3 separate regions of the Homo sapiens genome follow, and all the other regions are linked to region 3. The links are contacts of gene promoters, found by promoter capture Hi-C in blood cells and fetal thymus (Javierre and others, 2016). All regions are on one chromosome and are shown on one strand. The core of a region is centred on a gene start or on the middle of the fragment in contact, and the rest is flanking DNA. Distances in the headings are between cores, read along the strand shown. Region 1 has its middle 16 kb from the start of RAPGEF4. Region 2 has its middle 48 kb from the start of RAPGEF4. Region 3 holds the start of DYNC1I2 (dynein cytoplasmic 1 intermediate chain 2).

Region 1 (4,220 bases), core at 104-2,603, 1.0 Mb after region 3:
CCTGGGTTCAAGCGATTCTCCTGCCTCACCTCCCGAATAAATTGTTCTTTATTCCAAGCCTATTAGTATTTTGAAGTAGAACATTGCTTTGCCATTAAGGAAATATGCCCTAAATTGGTAGTTCTTGATGGTGGTGTTTCCACTCTCCTCCTACCCAAGGACAACCTAGAGCTATGTGAGGGGCTTTTTTTGGTTGTCAAAATGATTAATGGAGCTCACTGGCCTCTAGTAGGTGGGAGCTAAGGGTGTTAGACATCCGGTAATGTGTAAGACACTTCATTTTAAGATAGCAAAGGAAACATTACAAAACATTTGTTTTATAAAAAGGGTGTTATTCCAATAGAGCTGAGAGCTACCAGATTGAAGAGAGGAATGTCCTGCTTTTCCTGGGGAAGGGTAAATGAAATCTGCTGATCTTTTTTTGAGATGATTCATAATGGAAAAGTAGAAGAAACCAGGAATTTGTCACATGGAATGTAATTTGCTGAAAAATTTGAATATAAGAATGTAAAATTTGTAATCATAAAAATTCCATTTGAAATGGTATTTTCTAAAAAGAGAAATCAGCCTTTAGTTTTAGGTAACAGGTTAGTTTGAGACAGGTAAAATTCCACACTCATGGAAGGAAATAATGAAGCTAGTGAAATGAAGAGATGTTCTCACTGCCCTTTAGCATCCTAAACTGGGGAAATCCAAAATTATGAAAGGAAGGCAAAGTAAAAAACTTCCATAAAAAATGAAACCATATTTTGTTACAATTTTCATTTTCATGTAGATATAAAAATATGCATGTTATTGAAATGATCAGAGATTGATTAGATGTGGCTCACAAAAATTGAGATCTGTAAGATATATTTTAGAAAAAGTTAGTTCTTTTAATATAGCATTCAGAGTAATTTGTCTTTGATGTTAAATACACTTTAAATCAAATGTGATGTAGTATATTGTAGGCTTATAGAATTTGTTTTAGCAAACAGAATATGTTGAGTGAGTTTGTATTTTCTGGAGTGATTCCGTTTGGGGTGATAAGGCAAGGTCTCATGGGGAAGGCCCTAGGAAAGGGTAGGGGATGTTCTGGGCCAAAATACAATAGACCATAAGCATCATCTTCTTGTAAGGCAATATAATAGAGGATTGAAAAAGTCAGGAAGCCAGAGTCCCTGTCTTTATTTATCTTTTTATGTGTTTACTTATTATTTTTGTGAAGTATATGTTTATATATTTTAAAAATCACCTTTCTAAATGTACAGTTCTATGAGTTTGGACAAAAGCATAAAGTTGTACAACTACCACTACATTCAAGATATTGAACAGTTCCATCACCCCCAAAATTGGTTTTTTTTAGTCAAAACCTCTACCCCAGTTCTTAGCAAGCTCTGATCTATTTACTGTCTTTATAATCTGGCCTTTTCTAGAAGGTACTAAAAATTAGATCATTATATAGCTCCTCTAGTCTTTTTCCTCTTATTTAGCATAATACATTAGAGATTTATCCACGTTGCTGCATGTGACAGCAGTTCATGCTTTTACTGCTGAGTAGTACTCCATTGCATAGATGTACTACACTTTATCCATTCACCAGCTGAAAGACAATTGGGTTGTTTCCAGCATTTGGAGGTTATGAATAGTCACTATAAATAGTCGTGTACAGGTTTTTGGTTGAAAATAGGTTTTTATTTCTCTTTGGTAAATGGTTAAGAGAGGATAGCTAGATCATACTGTATGTTTAGCTTTATTAAAAAAAACTTACCAACTATATTCTGAAGTGGCTGTATTATTTCATATTTTCATTAGCAATGTATGATGGTTCCAGTGCTCCACATCCTGGTCATCATGTGGTTCAGCTGGTCTTTTTAAGTTTAAACATTCTGTTAGGTATGTAGTGATGTCTCAGTGGGTTTTTATTTGGTGTCATACATAAGAAATCTTTGTTTATCTTTGTTCCCATCTTGCTTTATTTCCAGTTTCCAATATATGTTTATTTCCAGTTTCCAATATATGTTTATTTCCAATATATGTTTCCAATATATGTTTATTTCCAGTTTCCAATATATGTTTATTTCCAGTTTCCAATATATGTTTTCTTACAGTTTTCATCTCTCTGCTGAAATTCCATATTGGTTCATGCACATTGTCTGCCTTCTCCATTTAGAGCCTTTAACATATTACTAATGGTTATTTCAAATGGCTTGTGTGATAGTTCCAGCATCTGAATCATCTCTGAGTTTTGTTCTGTTGATCACTTCATCTCAGGACAGTGGGTTACTTTACCTATCTTATTGTCTTATTATTTTTGACTGAATACCAGACATTGTTTGCAGGACAGCAGAGGCTGAAACAAACAATATATATGATTGGAAATGAGCATGTCTCTTCTTCTGCTAGGCTATTTGTATAGGGGTTGAGTTTATCTAGTTAGCAGTTGAGCAGGTTTTGTTGCTGCTTGGGTGTCAAAGAGCTTTTCTCTCTCTCTCTCTCTCTCTTTTTTTTTTTTTTTTGAGACAGAGTCTTGCTTTGTCCCCCAGGCTGGTGTGCAGTGGTACAATCTCAGCTCACTGCAACCTCTGCCTCCTGGATTCAAGTGATTCTCATGCCTCAGCCTCCCCGATAGCTGGGATTACAGGCATGCGCCACCAAACTGGGCTAATTTTTGTATTTTTAGTAGAGGCGAGGTTTCACCGTGTTGGCCAGGCTAGTCTTGAATTCCCGACTTCAAGTAATCCGCCCACCTCGGCCTCCCAAAGTTCTGGGTTTACAGGCGTGAGCTACTGCACCTGGCTGAGATTTTCTCAATGTTGCTGCTCTACCCCCAGCTTTCAGCCTTTCCTGTGTTGTAGCACCACAAAAGGGATCTATCTTCCCAAGGAATGGACTGCTATTGCTTGTTACCCAGTATTGCAAGCTCAGTTGTTTTGTTCCTGTGTGATCCTACTTCTCCTTTTCAAGGCAGCCAAACTGCCTTGCATCTTTGGCAAATCTTCTATGGGACTTCCCTGTACCTGCCCAGTAGTAGGAGACTTCTATTAGTAATGGTGTAGGATCCTGAGCCCAGGACTGTTCCTTGCTCTTCCAATAATGACAAGGTTTTGTTTTGTTTTGTTTTGTTTTCTCTTTCTCTAGCTGTAATGGGTTTTCATCTAGTCTTGGAGATATGAAGTTTCTGGTTCTTCCCCCAAGGCTAGAGGCTTTTGTTCCTTGAGAAAGCATCTAAGGAGGGCTTTGTGACTTTCCTTCAGCAACTGCACTCCCCTCCTCCAGGCCTGCACCACCAAGGAAGACTCCCTCTGGTCCCCCACCCTCACCCAGTCTTTCTCATGAGCACCAAATGGAAATCTGTGAAGACGATCTTGTAAGTGTGAACTGCTTCTCTGTCTGTGGCTCCCAGACAAACCTGTACTGTCACACTAGTTCACAGTCAGACTTCTGCAATTTGTTAGAAATTTTAGCAAATCCTTCCTACTTGTTTGATGGCAACCGGCATCTCTTCTTCCTGTGTTCTGCCGAAGGTGAGACAGAGCTTGTACCCTGTATTCTTAGAGACGCCTTGGATTTCAAGCTACCTAGTTGCCCTATGGCCTTAACTATCTGATGGGTTCAAGAAAAATTATGAGTTTGTATTTTATCTGTAGTTTTTCTTATTTCTAGGGTGGAAAAGGTGTTTTTGTTTGCTTTCTACATCCTAGGTAGAAGTAGAACTCCCATTGTATCTTTTTGTTGTTGTTTTGAGACACAGTCTCATTCTGTTGGCCAGGCTGGAGTGCAGTGGCATGATCTCAGCTCACTGCAACCTCCATCTCTCAGGTTCAAGCAATTCTGCCTCACTCTCCCAGGTAGCTGGGATTACAGGCATGTGCCACCAGGCCTGGCTAATTTTTATATTTTTAGCAGAGACGGGGTTTCACCATGTTGGCCAGGCTGGTCTCGAACTCCTGACCTCAGGTAATCTGCCCACCTCAGCCTCCCAAAGTGCTGGGATTATAGGTGTCAGCCACCGTGCCTGGCCCCCATTGTATCTTTAAAGTTATTCTAGAGATTAAAATTTTGCAGATTTTTCCCAGTAATGCATGGAAGGGTTAATAATTTTCACTATCCAAAATTTCATCTTCACATTTGGCTGAGTCATAGACCAGCTAGGAAAAGGCCAGGCAATATTGTGTCTGGCATATTGCTATGTGCACCCAAGTGCTATCATCATTTTCTTGTCCTACAAGAAGGCTTGG
Region 2 (4,070 bases), core at 1,085-3,584, 1.0 Mb after region 3:
AGTTAAACAATAAGATACCACATTAATAAAATGTGAGTGTTTAGCATTGCATACTATAATTGATCATTGCAAATATGCCAAATCAGCACTTAGCACAGAACAGAACCTGATAAATGCACCCGATACATGTTGTATTGTTCATGATAAATCAGCACTTTGGGGTTCTAATGATCTTAGGTGACTTTTTGTTTCTATCAAATTACCTCCAAAATTCCATACCACCTCATTCGATGCTGAACAGACAGCTGCACGTGGCTATTTTCAGCATCGTATTGCTGCTCAAAAAAATCTTCGTTGTCTCCAATGCCTGTGAAATCCAGTTTAAATTCCTGTTTTGCATTCACATTTCCAATTTTGTTCAACATACATCCTATGCTCCTGAGAAATCAACCTCAAACAAAATTTACAGGGTTTCTACAAAATTCCAGGAGCTGTGTTAAGTGCTGGATATTTAAATTTAACCACTGAAGACTTGTATGATGTAGTTTCACCACTGAAGTGCTATTTCATTTAAAGAAACAGAGTCTAAGTAGGCCAAAATATCATAAAAAAGGAATTTCACTCTTTAGTAAAGTCTCTCAAAGGATATCAACAGGAATCGTGGCCCTAGAAACACAGCCCAGCACCTGTGGCAGCCATAGAGATACACTGCTAAGATCTCCCTTTGAGAAGTGAAGCCAGCTGGATTTCCTGGGTCAAGGCGGGGACTTGGAGAACTTTTCTTACAAGAGGTTTGTAAAATGCACCAATCAGTGCTCTGTAAAAATGCACCAATCGGCGCTTTGTAACTAGCTAGAGGTTTGTAAAATGCACCAATCAGTGCTCTGTAAAAACACCAATTAGCGCTCTGTAGCTAGCTGGAGGTTTGTAAAATGGACCAATCAGCACACTGTAAAATGGACCAATCAGTGCTCTGTAAAATGGACCAATCAGCACTCTGTAAAATGGACCAATCAGCAGGACATGGGCGGGGACAAATAAGGGAATAAAAGCTGGCCACCCCAGCCTGCAGCAGCAACCTGCTTGGGCCACTTTTTACGCTGTGGAAGCTTTGTTCTTTTGCTCTTCACAATAAATCTTGCTGCTGCTCACTGTCTGCTGCTCACAATAAATCAGCTGTGCCACCTTTAAGAGCTGTAACATTCACTGCAAAGGTCTGCAGCTTCATTCTTGAAGTCGGTGAGACCAGGAACACACCAGAAAGAACCAACTCCGGACACATCTTGATCTAAATCCATTTATGTGTCTATCTATCTATATATCTACCTATCTGCTATCTATCATGATCCAAATAAGATTACTATTATTAGACAACTAAAATGAACTTAATCACATACCATCTGTCTTTGATATCATCTTTAAAAATCACACCTAATTTTTTAGGAAGAGAATAACATATGCACTACTGTTTTATATAACAATTTTTAGGAATATAAGCACTTTTTGTATGGTTGAGCTCATTCATAAGAAGTATTTAAGCTTGTTTTGAAACAATAATACCCATGTAAACTAACAATATATTATATAGTAATATGTAGAAGTTGTAAAGAGAAACATACAATTTAATGAACTCTATTTCCTGCCTCCTTCCCAAATATATTTTATTTGATTTTAATTGGAATCAGGCCAATTACTAATGAGGTTGAATATCTTTTTATATGTTTATTGTCTATATTGTTTCTTCTCTGTAAAATACTAATTCCTGTCTTTCCTCATTTTCCTATGAAATTATCATTTATTTATTTAAGAAGTTTTTTTTTTTAAAAAAACATATTCTGGATTATACTCCTTTGTTGTTAAATGCATCACAAATCCTTCTCTGAATATGTGTCCTATCTTTTTACATTTTTAGGGCATCCTCCAAGTTTTCCTGGGAATATTAGAAGAGGGAAGTTAGAAGGATGAACTATAGCTCCTGTTTCTGTAATTGGTCTCAGGGTCACACTTCATACTCATCCTCTTTTTCCCCATTATCCATTCTAAATCCCTACCCCCCAACTTCAGCTATCACCTCATCAAGGCATGGTGGATTACATGGTGGTGTTTCCCAAACCTTCATTCCGAGGGGTCTGAGCGCTTGGTTTATCATATCTTTCTCAGGCTGGGGTTGCTATAAATGTCCACAGTTACAGCTGGGCAAGAGAATAGCAGGAGGTGTCCAGGTGGATCATTTGGGTTCACACATATTCCTCTCTGCCTGCATTGTGTAAAATCAGCCTGACCTTCTCTTGCTAATGGGAGTCAATTGCCCCGACAAGATGGGGACTCCTCTTCTTGCCTGCTGCCCACTGAACACAAAGACTTCCAAGTGAGGTGGCAGCAGCCATAGATTGCAGTTCAGTGGAAGCCTTACCAAGTCCCCCTGCACAGGGATCCCCTTTTGGGAGCAAGGACCTCCTACCCTGCAAAGTCCAGAATTGTGGGGACAAGAAGCACATAATCCCACAGTGGGTCAATTAAGAATGATGGCAATTGGGACTACTTTTGCTTTCACCCTTGGTTTCCAGACACATATATTTTTCCTTGAGAGGACACACTGCCATAGAGTTCTCTATTTAAAACATGTAGGACAGGATAGCACCTATCCTTGCAGAGTATGACCTCTGAGCATTCCAGCTAATCCTTCAGTAGGCTGTTGCAGTCTTTTGTGAAGCAGCTCCTTCTGGATTGTGCCAGAAGTATGTGATATGTATGGATGGATGTGTGTGATCCCACTCCCATACCTCCTGCACTGTGTAGTAAGAGCCCTGGTCAGATGCTCTTTGTGTGGGATCCCAGAGCACCAATGTTGAAATCCTTAGCAATTAGGTTAACTACCTTGTGCCAGGGATTATTGTGCCTGATGTTTCCCTCATGACTGTGTTCTCCTTGCCAGCTGGGTGGTGTGTGAACCAGTCCCAAGCCCCATCTTACTGACTGTTGTCTTGGACCACTCTTGGTAGCACTTGTGTTAGTTTGCATCCTCTAAGGAGCAGACCCCAACGTGGGATTTGATATGCAAGAGGCATTCAAAATGCCTATAAAGGATAAAGGAGGAGGGAGCAGGAAGAGGCAGAAGAGTCTTTAGACCATTTGCAGGTCTAATATCTGGGAAAGGAGAGAAGGAAGGAAGATAGGGAGAAAATTAGCCTCAGTGCACTCCCCCTAGCACCTGTACCTAGGCCATTCACTGGCTGAGTGCAACCCAGAGTAAGCTTGACCTCAGTGTGAACACTGTTGAATCCCACATGGCAGCCAGAGGCTGTCAGTCAACTATCTTCCCCACAGCATCTTCTGCTGAAGGTGTGTCCAGAGTTGGTTCCTTCCAGTGGGTTCATGGTCTCGCTGACTTCAAGAACGAAGCCACAGACCTTCATGGTGAGTGTTACAGCTCTTAAAGGTGGCCCGGACCCAAAGAGTGAGCAGCAGCAAGATTTATTTTGAAGAGTGACAGAACAAAGCTTCCACAGCATGGAAAGGGACCCGAGTGTGTTGCCACTGCTGGCTAGAGTGGCCAGCTTTTATTCCTGTATTTGTCCCCACCCATGTCCTGCTGATTGGTCCATTTTACAGAGCGCTGATTGGTCCATTTTACAGAGTGCCGATTGGTCCATTTTACAGTGTGCTGATTGGTCCATTTTACAAACCTCTAGCTAGCTACAGAGCACCGATTGGTGCATTTTTACAGAGCACTGATTGGAGCATTTTACAAACCTCTTGTAAGAAAAGTTCTCCAAGTCCCCTCTTCAAGGAGAACTACAAACCACTGCTCAAGGAAATAAAACAGGACACAAACAAATGGAAGAATATTCCATGCTCATGGATAGGAAGACTCAATATCGTGAAAATGGCCATATTGCCCAAAGTAATTTATAGATTTAATGCCATCCCTATCAAGCTACCAATGACTTTCTTCACAGAATTGGAAAAAACTACTTTAAAGTTCATATGGAAACAAAAAAGACCTTGCAGTGCCAAGACAATCCTAAGCAAAAAGAACAAAGCTGGAGGGATCATGCTACCTGATTTCAAACTACACTACAAGGCCACAGTAACCAAAACAGCATGGTACTGGTACCAAAACAGAGATA
Region 3 (4,038 bases), core at 651-3,150:
CATCTGTAGGACTAAATCTAAACTGGGATGTGCGACTTTGCCCCTGCTTATGGCTTCATTCCCCAGTTCCTGTCTTAGCCTACGGCCATTGTGAATTATTTCCAAATTCACCAGCATTCTATGCTCTCACACCTCTGTCCTTTGTCCATATTCTTTTCTCTTCCCAAGGCACCTTTCTGCATCTTCTCTGCTTGGCTAACTTCTTCTACTCAACCTTTGAGAATCAAAGACTTAGCTCTAGAATCACCTCCTTCCAAAAGTTTCCTGAAAAGTTTTTCCAGGTGTTTCTATGACTTCCTTATATAATTCCATCATTATACAGATGCTCCTTGAGTTATGTCCTGATAAACCCATTTTAAGTCAAAAATATATGTTGAAAATGCATTTTACTCTAATAAGCCCATTGTAATGAGAAAAAAATCATAAGTTAAACCATCAGTCAGGAACCATCCATTCTTAGTTGAGCGAGTGTCCTTTCTCCCTTGAGAAGAAGGATGTGCATTTTTGTGCATTTTTATGTTTTTTGTTTTTTTTGTTTCTTTTTCTTTTTTTTTTTTTTGAGGCAGGGTCTTGCTCTGTCTCCCAGGCTGGAATGCAATTGTGTAATCTCAGCTCACTATAACCTCCGCCTCCTGGGCGCAAGCCATCCTCCTGCCTCAGCCTCGTGACTAGCTAGGACTACAGGCGCATGCCACACACCCTGCTAATTTTTCTATTTTTTGTAGAGACGGGGTTTCACCATGTTGCCCAGGCTGGTCTCTAAGTCCTGAGCTCAGGTGATCTGCCTGCCTCGGCCTCCCAAAGTGCTGGGATTACAGGTGTGAGCCACTGCGCCTGGTCCATTTTAGCTGTTACCACAACACCCATCACCATTGCTGGCACATGGTAGGCAATCAATAATAATTTTTTTTCAAATTAATACATGAAAACTATTAGGAAAGAAGTAAAAAAATAACATAGCTATAAAGCTCTTTGAATGTTAGGTTATTGGGAAAAGCTGTGGAAAGCCAAGGATTTTCTTTCTCAAATTTATTTTTAGAATATTTTTTTCTACACAAAAGACCACAGATAAGGCAGAGAAAGATAAGAAAAAGACCACAAGCCCAAGGACTTGGAATTTGAATCATAAAGGTTCATTCTAGACTTGGGCAATATCTAGAACTTCTAGAACAATCAGTTTTCTAGAACATAGAAAAGATATTACCTTGGTGTTAGCTTTAACTCCTGCCAAATAATGCTTTAAATTATTTAAACTTTAAAAAGGTGTGTCAATGTATACATTGCAGGTAAATTCATGTTCCAGTAACTTTTGTTTTCTTTGTATGTTAAAAATCTAACTGTGGAAAACATTCTAGCTTGGTTTGAGAGTCCAATAATACAAAATGCTTTATTTCCTAAAATTGTTTGAGAGAAAACCAAAATGCTACCACACTGCAACAAAATACTAAAGAATTATTTGCTATGTCAGTTGACATATTTTTATTTAGATTTTGCCTAAGATGCCACATGAAGCCTATATAAGACATTCTTTCCCTAAAACTTACATATGTATGTACATATATATATATAATGTTTTACATCCTAAACAGTCTACTTCACGTCTTCACCAAATGTGCAGCAGCGTGATTCACAGGTTCACCACTGGAAAATAGACCTTAAAATTCCGCCAATATTGGGTCAAAGATCTTACACTATAACACATACTACACTGTGGGCACGGATCAACAGACGAGAATACTTTATACAGAAGCTTCTCGACGGAAGAAGGCCTTGGAGTGGGAAATCTAAAGGAGGGGACACACTACATGTCCCAGCACACCTTGCGACGCCCAGCGACCACAATTCCCAGAACGCACTGCTCGTCGCACGCAGGTTTTCCTTGTTGCCGGGGTTTGTAGTTCTTCTCGATCGTGTCAGTTTGTAAGGCGAGGGCGGAAGTTGGATTCCTGGCCTGAGAATATTAGGCGTAGTTTTCCAGTTTTTGGCAAAGCGGAAATACTTAAGGCCCCTGGGTTGACTGGGTTCTTTGTTTTATCTACCGGCTTCTGCTTTACGACAGGTAAGTCACGGAGGGGCTACAATTCCTCGCAGCAGGGCCCCACCTTTTATTTCTGGGAGCGACCTCGTTCTGGTGAGGCTATTTGTCCCTAAGCTCTCGCCGTAGCAGCCGCCGCCCATCCCTCTTTGTGTGCTTTGGAAAGCCGCGGAGCTGGTGGTGGCTACAGTTGGTGTTGGGGGCTTAGGCGAGGGACGTTACCGGGAAGTTGCAGGCGGGAGGACTCTTCCCCATCCAGTCACCTGACAGGTGGGTTGACTGTTCTTCCCTCAAGGCCTCCCTGCCTGTGTTCCACGTCGCAACTCGAAGGGCGGCTTGGCAGTTCCTGCTGACATCCCCGCCCGGCCCAGCTTTGGGGAGGAAAGGCGGGGAGACCTGGGTGCGGTGACTCATTGCGGCCCGGCGAGAGGAGTCCACTCCTTTCCCTTCTCGACCCTCCAGAGGCGGCCTGGGGAGCCTTGAGGCTTGTCCGGCGCCCACTGGCTTCTTCCGGACGCCCTGCCGTGGACCGCGCCCTCTTGGCCGTGACCCCAGGGGAGAAAGTGATTCGTTTTCGCCTTGCCCCATTTTACAAATTAAGGCCATCTCTACTTGCCTTGATAGTGTCTCCCCTCACCTTATGTGTGATGGAAAGCCCCCGAACACGGAGGTTCTAGCACAAAACTCTAGAGACTCTCTTCTCTTGAGTTTTAAGAACGTGAACATGTCGGTCATGGAGGAAGGCTCTGGCTTCTGTGAGGATGAGAGGATTGGTCAGCTGTAGTTCAGCTGGTCAAGACTTTGTTGTTGGGCTTTAAAAATGCGCTTATTTTAATATCAATTAGTGTTGGTATATCTGTTTTACAGTTGACGTTGAACAAAATATAATGTGCCTAGCGTAGCATACAGTTACGTATGGAAGTTCTCTTCACCAGCCGTTTGTATGGAGCTGTTTAGAGGTGTAGAAAGAGTGGAATAAGAAACACGGTCTCTTGCTTTTAGTTTGTTCAAACAAATCTTGGAAGATATTGTGTATATATTTCAGGTCTGCTATGTCAACTTTTCATCCTTTTCGTATGCTTGAAAATTATCAATTCGCTTGCCAGTCTTAATGGAGTTTAGTAGCTGAAATTTCCTTTATCCACTTCTTAGTAGGTGAATTTCTCCTCTTGACTGACTTACCTTTGTTCAGATTTAACAATTGTGCTTTTTAAGAGATTTCCCCTAACCTCTGGAAATACAGTTTTCCAGAGGTTATTCTCCTAGTTTTCTTGATCTAAAGCATTTAATACTTCACTTGTACAGAGACATTGAAAGAGATTGATCATTAGGCAATAAGTCAATCATGTGGAGAAGGTAAGGAGTTCCTGGCTCCTGCCTTATGCTCAGCTGCTAGGCTACTTAAAAAAAAAAAATCCTAATTCATTATTTCTTCCTAAAACTCAAGCTGAAGTAGTGTTTATGCAATTGGTTTTTGAAGCTCAGATTGTAATTGTGTCTACCGTATCCATTATTCATTAGCCAGTGTCAATTGTAATGTTAAGGTCATTCTGCTGGATGTTGTGAAGGCAACAAAAATAACTAAAAAACAGTCCCTGATTTCAAGTACATTACAATCTAATAGGGAACATTTCAGGTATGTCCACAAATAATTGTACTAAAAGTGCCATCAGAGGTATACGTAAGGTGTTATTGTGGAGAAATACAGTCATATGATTTGATAGCTAATGATGGTAACTCCTGCGTTTTGCTTTAGTATTACTACAGCACTTTTAGAACTTACAGGAAAGTTCAGTTTGACCTATTGTTTTTTATCAAGTTTCTATGAATGCAATAGAATTGGTAATAGTTTTGATCTGTGTCATATAGCTTAAGAGCTTCTAAATGCCAAACCATGTCCTCTGTTTTAAGAGCCAGTTTTGACCTTTATCTTGGGTACCTAATATATTGTCATCAAAAACTTTGAGACATTGTGTTCAGTTTGTGTATGCGAACATTAAAGT

What was found. The method cuts DNA at HindIII sites, captures the fragments that hold promoters and counts their contacts. A CHiCAGO score of 5 or more calls a contact.
Region 1: a contact is called between a fragment that was not itself captured here and the fragment with the promoter of DYNC1I2 in region 3, in 2 of 17 cell types (naive CD4 T cells and naive CD8 T cells). The highest score is 5.9, in naive CD4 T cells.
Region 2: a contact is called between a fragment that was not itself captured here and the fragment with the promoter of DYNC1I2 in region 3, in 3 of 17 cell types (naive CD4 T cells, total CD4 T cells and non-activated CD4 T cells). The highest score is 6.5, in naive CD4 T cells.

The regions. Positions count from the first base shown.
Region 1 is chr2:172,717,635-172,721,854 of GRCh38, forward strand. It overlaps a transcript of PDK1 not described here. Among named protein-coding and RNA genes, the nearest start is that of RAPGEF4, 16 kb to the right of the region's middle. The HindIII fragment of the contact is 6,831 bases long and covers 1-4,220 here.
Region 2 is chr2:172,685,585-172,689,654 of GRCh38, forward strand. It overlaps a transcript of PDK1 not described here. Among named protein-coding and RNA genes, the nearest start is that of RAPGEF4, 48 kb to the right of the region's middle. The HindIII fragment of the contact is 1,715 bases long and covers 1,478-3,192 here.
Region 3 is chr2:171,685,569-171,689,606 of GRCh38, forward strand. It overlaps DYNC1I2 (dynein cytoplasmic 1 intermediate chain 2), which reads left to right and starts at 1,901. Exons shown (of 18, transcript NM_001378.3): 1 at 1,901-2,059. RefSeq lists an enhancer at 1,902-2,071. The HindIII fragment of the contact is 4,493 bases long and covers 1,749-4,038 here.